2 separate regions of the Homo sapiens genome follow, and region 1 is linked to region 2. The links are contacts of gene promoters, found by promoter capture Hi-C in human tissues and cell types (Jung and others, 2019). All regions are on one chromosome and are shown on one strand. The core of a region is centred on a gene start or on the middle of the fragment in contact, and the rest is flanking DNA. Distances in the headings are between cores, read along the strand shown. Region 1 has its middle 21 kb from the start of MIR5703. Region 2 holds the start of CCL20 (C-C motif chemokine ligand 20).

Region 1 (7,238 bases), core at 1,394-3,893, 360 kb before region 2:
TGCTTTGTACAGATGCTTCACATACTAAATATCACCACGGAGTCTCCACTAAGCCTTAGCTGCACCCTTCTCATAAATACCCTGAGAAATGCCCAAAGATCAGGCACGGCTCATTAGGAAATGTAACGGAGTCGTGACTGAACACAAGTGACAGATTTTAATTCAGATTAGCTCAACAGTGCAGTAAAGTCCAATCTTGATTCTGTCGGGGGTGGGGAGGGAGCAGAAACAAAAGAATGTCATAATCAAGGCCAGACTTCAAGGAAGGGATAACTCTCCAATAGGCTGAAGAGTAAATGTATTCAATGTTTCAAGTATACAAGCATTATTCCTATAATGATATCAACACATTATTAAAAAACCGTATTTAACAAGGATTCTCAGCGGATCCAGCTTGCTTCCCATACTTTCAAAATGTCTGCTCTAACCTGGAATTAATGGGTAACAACCTTGTGGTCTTTGAAAATATTAATTTAGGTTAGATTCACAAAACTACAAACTTGAAGCAAGCAAAAATATGATGACGTGATAACCTTAAGCCTATTGTTTGTAATTGCTGCTTGCTTTTTCGATGCTAGTATTTTGGTAACAGTTCATAAAGCACACTGCCCTATCCATTTTCCTCCTGACATTTAGCATTGAAATCTATATTATAGATGACACCAAGGCCAGTGCCAGATTCCACAAAAAGTTGGGGATGGAACAACCACTCAGGAAGCTTCTGTTAGCCAAAGTCCTTCCAAACCTGCAGGAAAAAAAAAAAAAAAAATATGCCCTAGCCTTTCCTTTCCTCTTCCCTTCCTTTCCCCTCTTCCCTTCCCTTTCTTTTCTCCCTCTCCTTGCCTTTTTCTTTAACCTTCTCTTATTGTATCACTCCATTCACCGTATATTCTTTTTTCCTAAGAAATTGAATTCTCCCCTTTAAAAAATGGAGAGTATAATTTGGGGTGGGGGTACCTCTTGAATATTCTTGAGATATTTGTTTGCTATGAAAAGTTTTTCACTTTTAACTCTTTGACTTTGCTTGACTCTGCTCTGCCTATACAAACTTGAATATGTAGAAACAAGAATACAAGCTTCTGATTAACAACAGGGCCCTAATGATTGAGGCAAGCAGTTTTTTTCCCTTCTACATTTAATGGCTTTTTTCCTTGGGTTTCTCGAAAGTTATTTGGTTAATCTGGAGTCTTACTAAACTCAACACAATCCTAATTTTAGAATAACTAGAAAATATAATTTTGTTTCTCTGTGTGATTGTTAATGCTTGCTTATCTTGGGACTAAAAAATATAATTAATAGGCTGGGCACGGTGGCTCGCGCCTGTAATCCCAGCACTTCGGGGGGCCGAGGTGGGTGGATCACCTGAGGTCAGGAGTTTGAGACCAGCCTGGCCAACATGGTGAAAACCCATCTCTACTAAAAATACAAAAATTAGCCGGGTGTGGTGGTGCACGCCTGTAGCCCCAGCTACTTAGGAGGCTGAGGCAGAAGAATTGCTTCAACCTGGGAGGCAGAGGTTGCAGTGACCCGAGATCGTGCCACTGCACTCTAGTTTGAGCAACAGAGCGAGACTCCATCTCAAAAAAAAAAAAAAAAGAAAGAAAGAAAGAAAGAAAGAAAGAAATAGAATTAGTAAAAATTGTGTTTGAAACGGTTTATTTCAAAATAGTGTGTGCTCCTCAGAGTCATTTAATCAGTCAAGTAATCTGCTTTGTTTGGGGCAGTGAATAGATAAGCAGCAGGAAAAAAAAAAAGCTTAGGAAAAGACCTAAATTGGGGTTTTTTAACGTTGGCACCATTGACATTTCAGGCTGGATAACTCTTTGTCGTGGGGTTGTACTGGGAACTGTAGGAGGTTTGGCAGCCTTCCTGGCCTCTACCCAACCAGTAGCAACCCCTTTCCTTGATATGTGACAATCAAAAAAAGTCTCCAGATATTGCTAAATATCCCCAGGGGGTCAAAATTGCCCCCAGTTGAGAACTACTAACCTAAATTCAGCAGTGAAACTGTTTTATGAACTGTGTCTCTCTGAGATTTATTTCAGAAACTTTCAAAAATTAAAAACTGGGACAGAGCCTGCCTAAAATTTTACGTGGCTCTAAATTTTCCTCCGTCATTTGCCTAAGACAGCATGTCACAGGCTCTCTCTGGAGACCTGGGCCTGCTCCAGGTCTTTGATGATCTAATAGATCTTCTTTTCTGTCTCAGTATTCTGGACAATGACAGCATAATCAATGCGCTGATGCTGAAAACATGCTGAGAAAACAATGGGAACAGGGTCAAATCGTCCTGAAGAAAGATTCTTTTTTAGTAGCATGGACCAGACATAACATTGTGATATACATTTTTCATAAAGCAGAAAACTCCATGATTCAAGGAGAAGTAAAAATCATTCTTTTTATTGTATTCAAGTCCAGTATACATCCATGCATGGATGGAGTTAAGATATAGTGACAAAAGGAGAAATCTCGAAATATGCTACCAGGTGGCTTAAAAATCACAGCTGAATCTATACGGTCAACTTGGCAGTAAAACACGTTACTTATTTCCTGTTTGGGAAAAATACCGCACTATGCTTCCTAGATTCAACTGAATTATGAAATGCAGAAATTGAAATGGGTACAAAAAGTATACTATTTTTTTATCCCTCCCCCCCCCCCCCGTTTCCTTTCTTCTTTCCTTCCTTTTTTTTCTGACAGCATTCACACATAGAAGAAAAGTTGATTCAATGCATCTGGATTGTGAAATAAAGCATAAGGTGTGGACAGGCAGTACAAGTATTGCATACTGTTAATGTTTAATTAAATATTTGAAATCAAACAGTTGACTTAGCAAGTGCTATAAAGAAGAGAGTGTAGATTTTACTAGCTTCTCCATAGCTTGGAAAAAAATTCAGATTGTACCAACCAAGGACAGGTTTTCAGTCGTAAAAGCTAAACATTATTCCATGGATGGCTCCTAGTGGGTGACTTTGGCTCCCTGGCTGCACTGCCCATGTGACTTTACAGATCAGAAAACATCTTCTACTAGGCGAGTTAAGAGGGGGTCAGACCAATGAGTGGCTAATTTGTAAGGATTTCACTTAACTGAAAGACACCCTTCTGAGTGCTTTCTAAACCCCATTAACAGAAATTAGTGTTAAAAGTTAAAAACCAGTAATAATCTGACCTTCAAGCATGCTATACTATAAACTGAACTCTCTATTTTCTGGCTACTGCATTTTCCACTACCAGCCCTAGCCCAGGTTGCTTCCTCTGCCTGAGATGTTCTTTCCTCCCAGCGCCATGTGCACTCCAAATCCTGCCCATCTTAACTGCTACTTCCTCCAAGAAGTCTCCCTTCCCTTATCCTTCAAGACTGAGGGACTCATGCCTTCCTGTGAACTGCCTTAGTGAATTATCTCACCCCTCTTGTGACACTTCACTTTCTGTCTTGTTTTAAGATCTTTTGTGTTTCCTTTTTTATTCCATTTTATTATATAAAAGTCCTTTGTGGAAAGGACTTGCACCTGGTTCCTTGTTCCATTCCCCACACCACATGGCTCGGGACTTTGTACACTGTTTAGCAGATAACAATTTAAATGAATGACCCATTAGATATCATGTTGGTGTCTGATATTTGTTCTACCCAGAGTGAGTCCATCTGGAGGGTGAGATAATGTCGTTCAGCTCCTTTCCAACCCCATCAGCAGTCCTAGGTGAAGAAAGGCAAAGGCCTGTTATAGATCAACTCCCTGGACTAATGTTGCAATCATTCTCTTTGCAAACATGTGTCAGCGTTTCTGCTTCCATATCTTTCTACATATCCGCAGTGAACAAACTCCCTAAGAAACACTGGCTTATTGAAATGGGGCATGTTACTAAATACACAGCATTCTTTTTATCTCCCTTCTCTGCTGTATAACACACCAACCTCCACTTGCACATTCAGAAATATAAAAATGATTACATTATGTAAATCCAACCCCTTTGTAGGGATCACTGCCAGAGAGATGTTAAAATGACATTACACCTGACCTTTCTGAAAAGGATAATGCTCCAGAAGTAAATTCTTACAAATGAGGATGGACAACACTTGGAGTTCTTTTTTTTTTTCTTTTTTTTTTTTCTTTGGAGTCTCACTCTGTCACCCAGGCTTGAGTGCAATGGTGTAATCTTGGCTCACTGCAACCTCTGCCTCCTGGGTTCAAGTGATTGTCCTGCCTCAGCCTCCTGAGTAGCTGGGATTACAGGCGCCTGCCACCATGCCCAGATAATTTTTTCTATTTTTAGTAGAAATGAGGTTTCACCATGTTGGCCAGGCTGGTCTTGAACTCCTGACCTCAGGTGACCCACCTGCCTTGGCCACCCAAAGTGCTGGGATTACAGGCATGAGCCACCATGCCTGGCCAACATTCAGAGGTTTTTTTTTTTTTTCTTTTTTTTTTAAAGAAACCCCTATTGGCTTGTTATTTTATATAAATAAGCATTTTGATTAAAAGAACTATTTGAACTGAATATTTTCTCCCACAGAATGGGAATTAGATTTCTTTAACTTAGCCTGGCTTAGGGTCTCTCTGTCTTCCTTTTTTTGAAGATCTGAAACTCTGGCAAAACAATGTCATATTTTCTGCTAATTTGTGGTTATTGTCCTTTTGCAGGATTTGAATCTTATATGAAGTTTATTTTGTCACCAGGACTATATACCAGAATTTGAGTCTCAGCTGGTATCGGTGGGGGAAGGCCATGGTGGTCTACTGGACAGCACCTGGAAAAAGATGGCATTTGAGTTTGGGCTATGCCACTACTGGCAGTTTGGTTTGGGGAAAGCCAAGTCTTCGCCTCTCAGTCTCCTATCTGAAAAATTGAGACAATAACAATACATATTTCCCAGAATTTTTGTGAGATTTTAATGAGATAATGCATGAGAAAATGCACTGTATACAATACTATACAAATACCAACCCTTCTTCCTATATCACCAGACTCTGCCACATTCATTGAAATCAGCACTTGGTGTTTACGAACATCTTCTCCATATGAGATGCAGAGGACAGAAATTTAAGAGATGCTGACCTTGCCTTTGCAGAGTATTTAACCTTTTTTTTTTTTTTTTTTTTTTGAGATGGAGTCTTGCTCTGTCACCTAGGCTCTGTCACCTAGCCAAGATCACGCGATCTTGGCTCACTGCAACCTCTGCCTCCCTGGCTCAAGCAATTCTCCTGCCTCAGTCTCCCGAGTAGCTGGGATTACAGGCACCTGCCACTATGCCCGGCTAATTTTTCCATTTTTAGTAGAGACAGGGTTTTACCATGTTGGCCAGGCTGGTCTCAAACTCTTGACCTCAAGTGGTCCGCCCACCTCAGCCTCCCAAAGTGCTGGGATTACAGGCATGAGCCACACCAGGCCTTAACCTTTAAGTTTCCTTCCTTCCTTCTTTTTTTTTTTTTCCAGGCAGAGACTTACTGTGTCACCCAGGCTGGAGTGCAGTGGTGCAATCTCGGCTCACTGCAACCTCTGCTCCTGGGGTTCAAGTGATTCTCCTGCCTCAGCCTCCCGAGCAGCTGGGATTACAGGCACGTGCCCCCATGCCTGGCTAATTTTTGTATTTTTAGTAGAGACGGGGTTTCACCATGTTGGCCAGGTTGGTCTTGAACTCCTGACCTCAAGTGATCTGCCCGCCTTGGCTTCCCAAAGTGCTGGAATTACAGGTGTGAGCCACTGCACATGGCCTTTTAAGTTACGTTTAAAAATAAGTTTAATTATGTTTGCTTTGTGAATCTAAAAAAGTGGCTTTTCTTCTGTGAGTATTGGTTTCCTCATCTGTAAAATGGAAGTAGTAATAACTATTTTTCGAGAACAAAGGAGGTAATACACATGAAGCATTGGCATAGTACCTGTCACGTCTAGTTGCTCAGTAAATGGTACCTTTTCAAAGAATAAGAAAAGTGCCCACCTAGTATTATAAGGCTTCAAATTAATAAGCAAGAACCATTATGTCTAGTTCGAAAAGTCTGGAAAGGCTTTATAGAAGATTTAGAATCTGAGCAGAGGCTCAATGTACAAACAGATTTCTGCATTTGAAGATAATAGCAGCAATGGCCAATATTTGCCACACACTGTTCAAAGCACTTTACATGTATTAACTCATTTAATACCAAAACGCAGTTGGTATTTTCATCCCCATTTTGCAAATGAGAAGACTGAGGTACCAGAGTTGAAGAGACTAACCCATAGTCTCACAGATGATTTGGGGGAGAGCAAGGACCAGACCTAAACAGTCTGGTTCCTGAGCCTCAGCTCATAACCACCACTTAGAAGGGGCAGTGGGGACCAATGCAGTGGCTCATGCCTATAATCCCAGCACTTTGGGAGGTGGAGGCAGGAGAATTGCTTGAGCCTAGGAATTCAAGACCAGCCTGGGCAACATAGAAAGACTCCATCTCTTAAAAAAAAATAGCTGGGTGTGAGGGTGTGGGCCTGTAGTCCTAGCTACTAGGGAGGCTGAGGTGTGAGGATGGCTTGTGCCCAGGAGATCAAGGCTACGGTGAGCTATGATTACTCCACTGCATTCCAGCTTGGGGGACAGTGCAAGACTCTGTGTCCAAAAAAATAAAAATAAATAAACAGAATGGGACAGTGAGCTGGAGGGTGAGAGGGATGGAGGAGACAGGCAACCAAAAGCATTATAGGTGCAGAGATGATGAATGAAAACCCTAGGGTCTTCCCCTCCTGAGAGAAAGTAGTGTGAATAGGTCAGAGGCACAGTGGGAAAGGAGCCCTGTGTGATGGAAAAACTGGGGAGACAAAAGGCCAGAGGGAGAGTGTTGTCACTGAGTTGCAGAGAGGTGGCCTCACCACTGAGCCCAGTTCATACCTGTTGATTATGAAGGCAGCAAGAAGGAGAGTTCCAGATTTTGCAAGTCCAGGCCAGATGTAAACATAAGGCCAGTGTTTTCTTAGGAGGCTACCTGGTCCAAGAGGGCAAGGTAATCCCCTCCTCTGTCCACAAAATGCTGCTGACCTTTGACTTTTGCCAGAAAAGCTTTCATCTGGTGTCACCTCTCACCAGGTCCTGGCAATTATGTACATTTCTTAAAAAGGTTAGACTAGCAATTTTTCAAGCTTGCACAGTAGAATGTCATTGTGTGCATGTTTAATTAATCAAGCTGGCATCTAGACTGTGAAAAGCAAGTCTGCAAAGCACCTTGAAGAAAATAATAAACATCCTTCAGTCTTTAAAACACAAACTGCAACAA
Region 2 (7,227 bases), core at 3,380-5,879:
TATACAAGTAAATGTCCCTTATCATATATATGACTTGCAAATTTTTCCTTTCCTTTCTATGCGTTTTCTTTTCACATTCTTTATAGTGTCCTTTGAAGCATAAAAATGTTTAGTTTTGATTTGGTCCAGTTCGTTAATTTTTAATTTTATTGTTTGAGCTTTTGGTGTTGTATCTAACAAGTCATTGCCCAACCCAAGGTCATGAAGATTTTCTCCTATGTTTTCTTCTAAGAATTTCATGTTTTTAACTCTTACATTGAGATCTATGATCCATTTTGAATTAATTTTTATATATAGTGTGAAGTAATGGTCTAACTTTATTCTTTTGCTGTGAATATCCAGTAGTTCCAGCACTATTTGTTGAAAAGACTGTTCTTCCCCCATTGAATGGTCTTGCCACCCTAACACAAAATCAGTTGACCATAGACATGGGGGCTTATTTCTCAATTGTATGCCATTGATGTGAACACTCATGCAATTTTCACATGTCTTGATTTAGTGTGATTTTTTAGTAAATTTTGAAATCAGAAAGTGTGAGTCTTCCAACTTTATTCTTCCTTTTTGGGATTGTTTTATCAATTCAAGGTCCCTTGCAATTTCACATGAATTTGAGTATTGGCTTTTCCATTTCTACAAAGAAGCCAGCCAGGATTTTAATAGAAATTGTGTTAAATAGGCCGGGCATGGTGGCTCACACCTGTAATCTCAACACTTTAGGAGTCTGAGGTGGGCGGAGCACCTGAGGTCAGGAGTTCAAGACCAGACTGGCCAACATGGCGACACCCTGTCTCTACTAAAAATACAAAATTAGCAAGGTGTGATGGTGCATGATTGTAGTTCCAACTACTTGGGAGGCTGAGGCAGGAGAATTGGCTGAACCTGGGAGGCAGAGGTTGCAGTGAGCCGAGATTGCGCCATTGCACTCCAGCCCGGGCAACAAGAGTGAAACTCCATCTCAAAAAAGAGAGAGAGAGAGAGGAAAAGAAAAGAAATTGTGTTGAATAGAAGCGGTGAGACTGAACATCCTTGTCTTGTCCTTGATCTCAGGGAAAAGGCAGTAAGTCTTTCAACATTGAGTGTGCTATCAGCTATGAGGCAGTCATAGATGACCTTTATCAGGTTGAGATGTTCTCTGCTATTCCTAGTTTGTTGAGTGTTTTGTCATGAGAAGGTGCTGGATTTTGTTAGTTACTTTTCATATAGTTTTTATTTTTATTCAATTAATTTGTAGTATTACATTTCCTGGAATAAATCCCACTTGTTATGGTGTATGGTCCTTTTACTATGTTGTTTTGTTTTTGTGTTTGTATTCGGAAAGGACATTGGTCTGTTGTTTTCTTTTCTTGTGATGTGTTTATCTTATTTTGGTGTCAGGATAATACTGTCCTCATAGAAGAAGTTGAAGAGGGTTCCCTTCTCTTCTATACTTTGAAAAAGTTTGTGAAGAACTGGTATTAATTCTTATTTGAATGTTTTGTAGAATTAACCAGTGAATTAATCTGGTCCTGAGGTTTTATTTGTGAAAAATATTTGGTTATCAATTTGATATCTTTACTTGTTATAGCTCTATTCAAATTTTCTATTTTTTTTTTGAGATGGAGTCTTGCTGTGTCGCCCAGGCTGGAGTACAATGACACGATCTTGGTTCACTGCAACCTCTACCTCCCGGGTTCACGCCATTCTCCTGCCTCAGCCTCCCTAGTAGCTGGGATCACAGGTGCCCGCTACCACACCAGGCTAATTTTTTGCATTTTTAGTAGAGACAGGGTTTCACCATGTTAGCCAGGATGGTCTCGATCTCCTGACCTTGTGCTCCTTCCGCCTTGGCCTCCCAAAGTGCTGGGATTACAGGCATGAGCCACCACGCCCATCCCAAATTTTCTATTTTCTTCTTGAATCAGGGTCAATAATTTGTGTCTTTCATCTCTATTCGTATCAGCTGTGAGGTGGTCATAGATGACTTTTATCAGGTTGAGAAAGTTCTCAACTATTCCTAGTTAGTTGAGTGTTTTTGTCATGACAACGTGTTGGATTTTGTCAGTTGCTTTTCAAATCATTTTTATTTTTTATTTGATTGATTTGTTGTATTACATTTCCTGGAATAAATCCCACTTGGTTATGGTGTATGATCTTTTTACTGTGCTGTCGGCATAGTAATTTTATTTGCATACAGTTTTTTTTTTTTTTTTTTTTTTTTTACCTCCCTTTCCTTTGTTTGGTTTGGTCTAGTCAAGGCTTGTTAGTTTTGTTGATCTTCTCAAAGAACTAACTTTCGCATTCGTTGATTTCCTCTATTGTTTTGCATTCTCTGTTTTATTTATTCCTGCTCTAATCTTCATTTCCCTCCTTCTGCATGCTTTGGGTTTAGCTTGCTCTGCTTTTCTCTAGTTTCTTAAGGTAGAAGTTTGGGTTATTGTTTTGAGATGTTTCTTTTTTTTTTTTTTTAATGTGAGTGTTTACAGCTATAAGTTTCCTTCTGAGGACTGCTTTTGCTACATCCTATAAGTTTTGATATGTTGTGGACTTTTTTTTACATTTCAAAGTTGTTTTCTACTTTCTCTAGTGACTTTTCTTTTGACACATTGTTGTTGTTGTTGTTGTTTTTTCCTTTGAGATGGAGTCTCTGTTGGCCAGGTTAGAGGGCAGTAGCGTGATCTCGGCTCGCCGTAACTTCTGCTTCCTGGGCTCATGCGATTCTCCTGCCTCAGCCTCCCAAGTAGCTGGGATTACAGGCATGGACTACCACACCCGGCTAATATTTGTATTTTTAGTAGAGACAGGGTTTCACTATGTTGGCCAGTCTGGTCTCGAACTCCTGACCTCAGGCAGTCCACCCACCTCGGCCTCCCAAAATGCTAGGATTACAGGCATGAGCCACCACTCCTGGCCAGACACATTGGTTATTTAGGAATATGTGGTTTCCTTTCTGTCTGTTACTGATTTCTGATTTAATTCCATTGTGGTTTGAATGTATACTTTATGTGATTTCAGTCGGTTTACATTTACTGAGACTTGTTCCATAACCTACCATATGCTTTATCCTAGAGAACATTCCATGTGCAACTATTCTGTTGATGTTGGATAGAGTAGTCCTTCGATGCCTGCTAAGTCTATTTGGCTTATAGTGTTGTTCAAGTCTTCTATTTTCTTGTGGATCTTCTGCCTAAATTTTATTAATTAGTGAAAATGTGGTACCAAAGCTGTCAACTTTTATTGTTAAATTTCCTATTCTGCTGGGCACGGTGGCTCATGCCTGTAATGAGGTCAGGAGTTCAGCCTGGGCAACATGGTGAAACCACGTCTCTACTAAAAATACAAAAATTCGCTGGGCGTGGTGGCACGTGCCTGTAGTCCCAGCTACTCAGGAGGCTGAGGCAGGCGAATCGCTTGAACCCAGGAGGCGGAGGTTGTAGTGAGCCGAGATGGTGCCACTGCACTCCAGCCTGGGCAACAAGAGCAAAATTCTGTCTCAAAAGAAATTATAATAATAAAATAAAATAAAATTTCCTATTCTTCCCTTCAATTCTGTCAGTTTTTGCTTTCTGTAGTTTGGGGTGCTACTGTTAGGTATATATATGGTTATAGGTTTTACATCTTCCCAATGGGTTAATTTTGTGTTACCATGAAAGTCCCTTTTTATTTCCGGTAACATTAAAAAAAAATCTATTTTGTCTGATATAGGCATCACCAACTCCAGTTCTCTTTTGTTTACTGTTTGGTATACCTTTCTTTTGATCCTTTTACTTTCAACCTATTTGGGTCTAGTGGAGAGTTCTTATACTGCCTTAGGTTAGGGATTCATATTACATTATCATCATTAGTACTGTTATTTGACATTTGCTGTGCTGACTAGCTACTGCTGATAGGTTTTCTTTCCTCAACAATTCTGAGGCTCTATATTGAGTTATATTAGTACATCATCATGGAGAGTTAAAGGTAGGTAAGGATTATTTTCTGAACTGCAATATTGATTAAAGCCATGTGAATGTATAAGATTCTTAGAAGAGTTGACATTAAATCAAGGTGAAGCTGAGGTTTGAGCCTTACTTAAAGGCTGATATTTTCCACTCTAACTGCGGACAGTACTGTAGCACTGTTATAGTACCTGCTCTGAATGTTAGTCTAGCAACTCAGGGTCTTCTTCATGACAGCTGAACCTCAACCATGTGATGGTAAATGTGTAGCAGAGTATGCCTGGCATCCCACCTGCTCCTCCTCCCCCTCCTCCTTGACTGGTTCTGGAAAGCAAATAGGGTGTAACAATAGGAGTTCTGGAATGTTCCTGTGTGGGGCTGACCTTTGTATCGCTGTTAATCCTCTATTTTCAGACACAAAAATGATTAAGTTAAAACTGGATGAAAGTCTTTTCTGGGTCACAGGGCTGAGCTGCTTTTGCTCTTTGCAAATACAAAGAATTTAACAGGATTCTCCCCTTCTCAACTTCCTGTCCCCCACCCTGACCTTCGCACCTTCCCAATATGAGGAAAAAGCAGGAAGTTTTCCTTGCGGGTTTTTTTTATGATGACATGATGGGGCCAGTTGATCAATGGGGAAAACCCCATGTGGCAACACGCCTTCTGTGTACATTCCCAATATTTGCTATAAATAGGGCCATCCCAGGCTGCTGTCAGAATATAACAGCACTCCCAAAGAACTGGGTACTCAACACTGAGCAGATCTGTTCTTTGAGCTAAAAACCATGTGCTGTACCAAGAGTTTGCTCCTGGCTGCTTTGATGTCAGTGCTGCTACTCCACCTCTGCGGCGAATCAGAAGGTAAGTGTCGCTCTTTCCGCTAGCACAGAAGAAAGACTATTTTCATTTTCCTTTTAGCCTTGAGCTCAACTGGGGGTCCCTAAGGGATGGAAAACTGTTAGGAAGTATACAAGAGGTAGTGATGGAAGTTGTCTGCCCATGGTGGAGTGGAGGAGAGAAGAGTTACTGCTGCGGATCAGGCTTTCCTCTCTGCTGTCAATCTCAGCAGATTTGGGGAGTGGTGGGCTCTTAGAGATCCCTAAACTTCAGGATAAAGCCAAAGTGATGTTTCTGGGAGTGATATAAAGTGTGTAATGTTACCAGTAGATGGGGCCATTTTGAAATGTAGAGAATCCTCCTGTGTCCCCAACTTTCGTACCTCCCAACTTAATAGTTTTGGTAAAGTTCAAAACTCATCCTTTAGAAGTAGATTATAATACCTGACATCAACATCCCCACAAGGCATGGGGGACATTGCTTGCCAACTTTAAAATAACATTAATCCCTTACCTTACAGCATGTTGTAATCTGACTCGGGAATGTCCAAGTATTGCTTTATTGCTCAATAGTCACACAACACTTTTAGCAACAGGTGCATTCCTAAAAATGCACATTGAATTTTTTTTTTTTTCTGAGGCAGGGTCTAACTTCATCACCCAGGCCAGAGTGCAGTGGCATGATTACAGCTCACTACAGCCTCAACCTCCTGGAGTCAAGTGAACCTCCAGTCTCAGCCTCTTGAATAACAGGGACCACGGCCGTGTGCCACTCACCTGGCTAATTTTTTTACATTTTTTTTTTTTTTGTAGAGACAGGGTTTCACTGTGTTGCCCAGGCTGGTCTCGAACTCCTGGAGGCAAGCAATCCTTCCTCCTTGGCCTCCCAAAGTGCTGGGATTACAGGCATGAGCCACCATGCCCAACCACATGTTGAACTTTTATGAACAAAATTAAACATTCCTATTAATTAATAGGACAATTTCAAAGTGTTTTCACTCCTATAAATCATATTTCCCTTTGTAGCTCTATTTCTCAATACTTAGTAGCCAGATAATAGATTAAAATCTGCCAATTTATTCATTTTCTGCTTTTGGAAGTTTATCTACATAAGGGTTCCTTCAAGCAGTAGGGAAGGGGCTGCTCATATTCTTGAATGATTATAGTGAACTGAAATGAAATATTGTCAATTTGTATTTCTTACTGAAGATATCCCACTTATGAGAAGTCCTGTGTTTCTCAATTCTATTATTGAACCAAAACTTCTCGGCACACAAACTGTTTTTTCAAAGAACTGTAAACTATGTTAGATTGGTTCTCAACGACCTTACAAAGGTTTCCAAGACATTGAAACTCCTCCTCTAAGTGGTTTATTCGTCATATACATGAGATTCACTAGATTTTTCACAACTTAAGGTAGTTTTATAATACCAATCACAGGATAAGTTTATTCATGTGGATCCAATACCTTTCACTTTTTTTTTTTTTTAGCAGCAAGCAACTTTGACTGCTGTCTTGGATACACAGACCGTATTCTTCATCCTAAATTTATTGTGGGCTTCACACGGCAGCTGGCCAATGAAGGCTGTGACATCAATGCTATCATGTAAGTTATTAATTGATTTTAATTCAGTTGTATCAGGAATACCTAGAAACTTCAGTTTTAAAAATGTTTGCCTTTTTAGAGTTTCATTCAGAAATTACTGATGTTTTGAACATAAGATCTTATTTTAAAGAGAAAGAAATGATGTGGCAAAGATAGCTTTGTCTTAGTACATATCTACTTTAAAGTTCACTTTAAACAGGACTGGAATAAGGCAAAACCTTTTTTAAAAATTTTTTTTGGTCAAACGGAACTAGTATAGGGCAAAAATCACTTTCTAAGGCTATTAAAGTGATATATTAGGAAAATAGGGAAGATACACATTTCGAAATGAGCATCTTCTACCAGAAAGTGTTTGAGACCAAAAGTAAAATCTCAGACTAATTATACTATCACATATAATTTTCTTGATTTATATAGGATATTATATTTTGGAATTATACAAGTTATTGATCAGATACATACATATTCTATGTAACCACCAATAGCAAAATTATATGACAATTCTGGGACTTTATCTTCCTGCCATTGTACTATTATTTGTTACATTGCAGAGAAAGAGAGAATCACTTTGATTTTGCATTAATCTTCATCAGAAGCATTTTTTGTGCATTTTATTTTACCTCATCAACTGAAATGTTTAGTGTGTAATCAACTGGAATATAAAATTTCCATTGTATGTTCTATGAAAAACCCATTGAAAAGCTCATTAAACACAAATCAAATTTTCTGATTTTTCAGCTTTCACACAAAGAAAAAGTTGTCTGTGTGCGCAAATCCAAAACAGACTTGGGTGAAATATATTGTGCGTCTCCTCAGGTATGTTACACTGACATTTAGCCTTTGCAAATGTTTGAGGAAAGAGGAGTGTGCA

What was found. Contacts are between HindIII fragments. The study calls those that stand out against the background at their distance.
Region 1: a fragment that was not itself captured here is called in contact with the fragment with the promoter of CCL20 in region 2 in 2 of the 25 tissues and cell types used here (H1 embryonic stem cells and aorta).

The regions. Positions count from the first base shown.
Region 1 is chr2:227,447,793-227,455,030 of GRCh38, forward strand. No RefSeq gene overlaps it. Among named protein-coding and RNA genes, the nearest start is that of MIR5703, 21 kb to the right of the region's middle. The HindIII fragment of the contact is 3,492 bases long and covers 898-4,389 here.
Region 2 is chr2:227,809,213-227,816,439 of GRCh38, forward strand. It overlaps CCL20 (C-C motif chemokine ligand 20), which reads left to right and starts at 4,630. Exons shown (of 4, transcript NM_004591.3): 1 at 4,630-4,775; 2 at 6,242-6,356; 3 at 7,095-7,172. The coding sequence starts at 4,700. The HindIII fragment of the contact is 20,627 bases long and covers 1-7,227 here.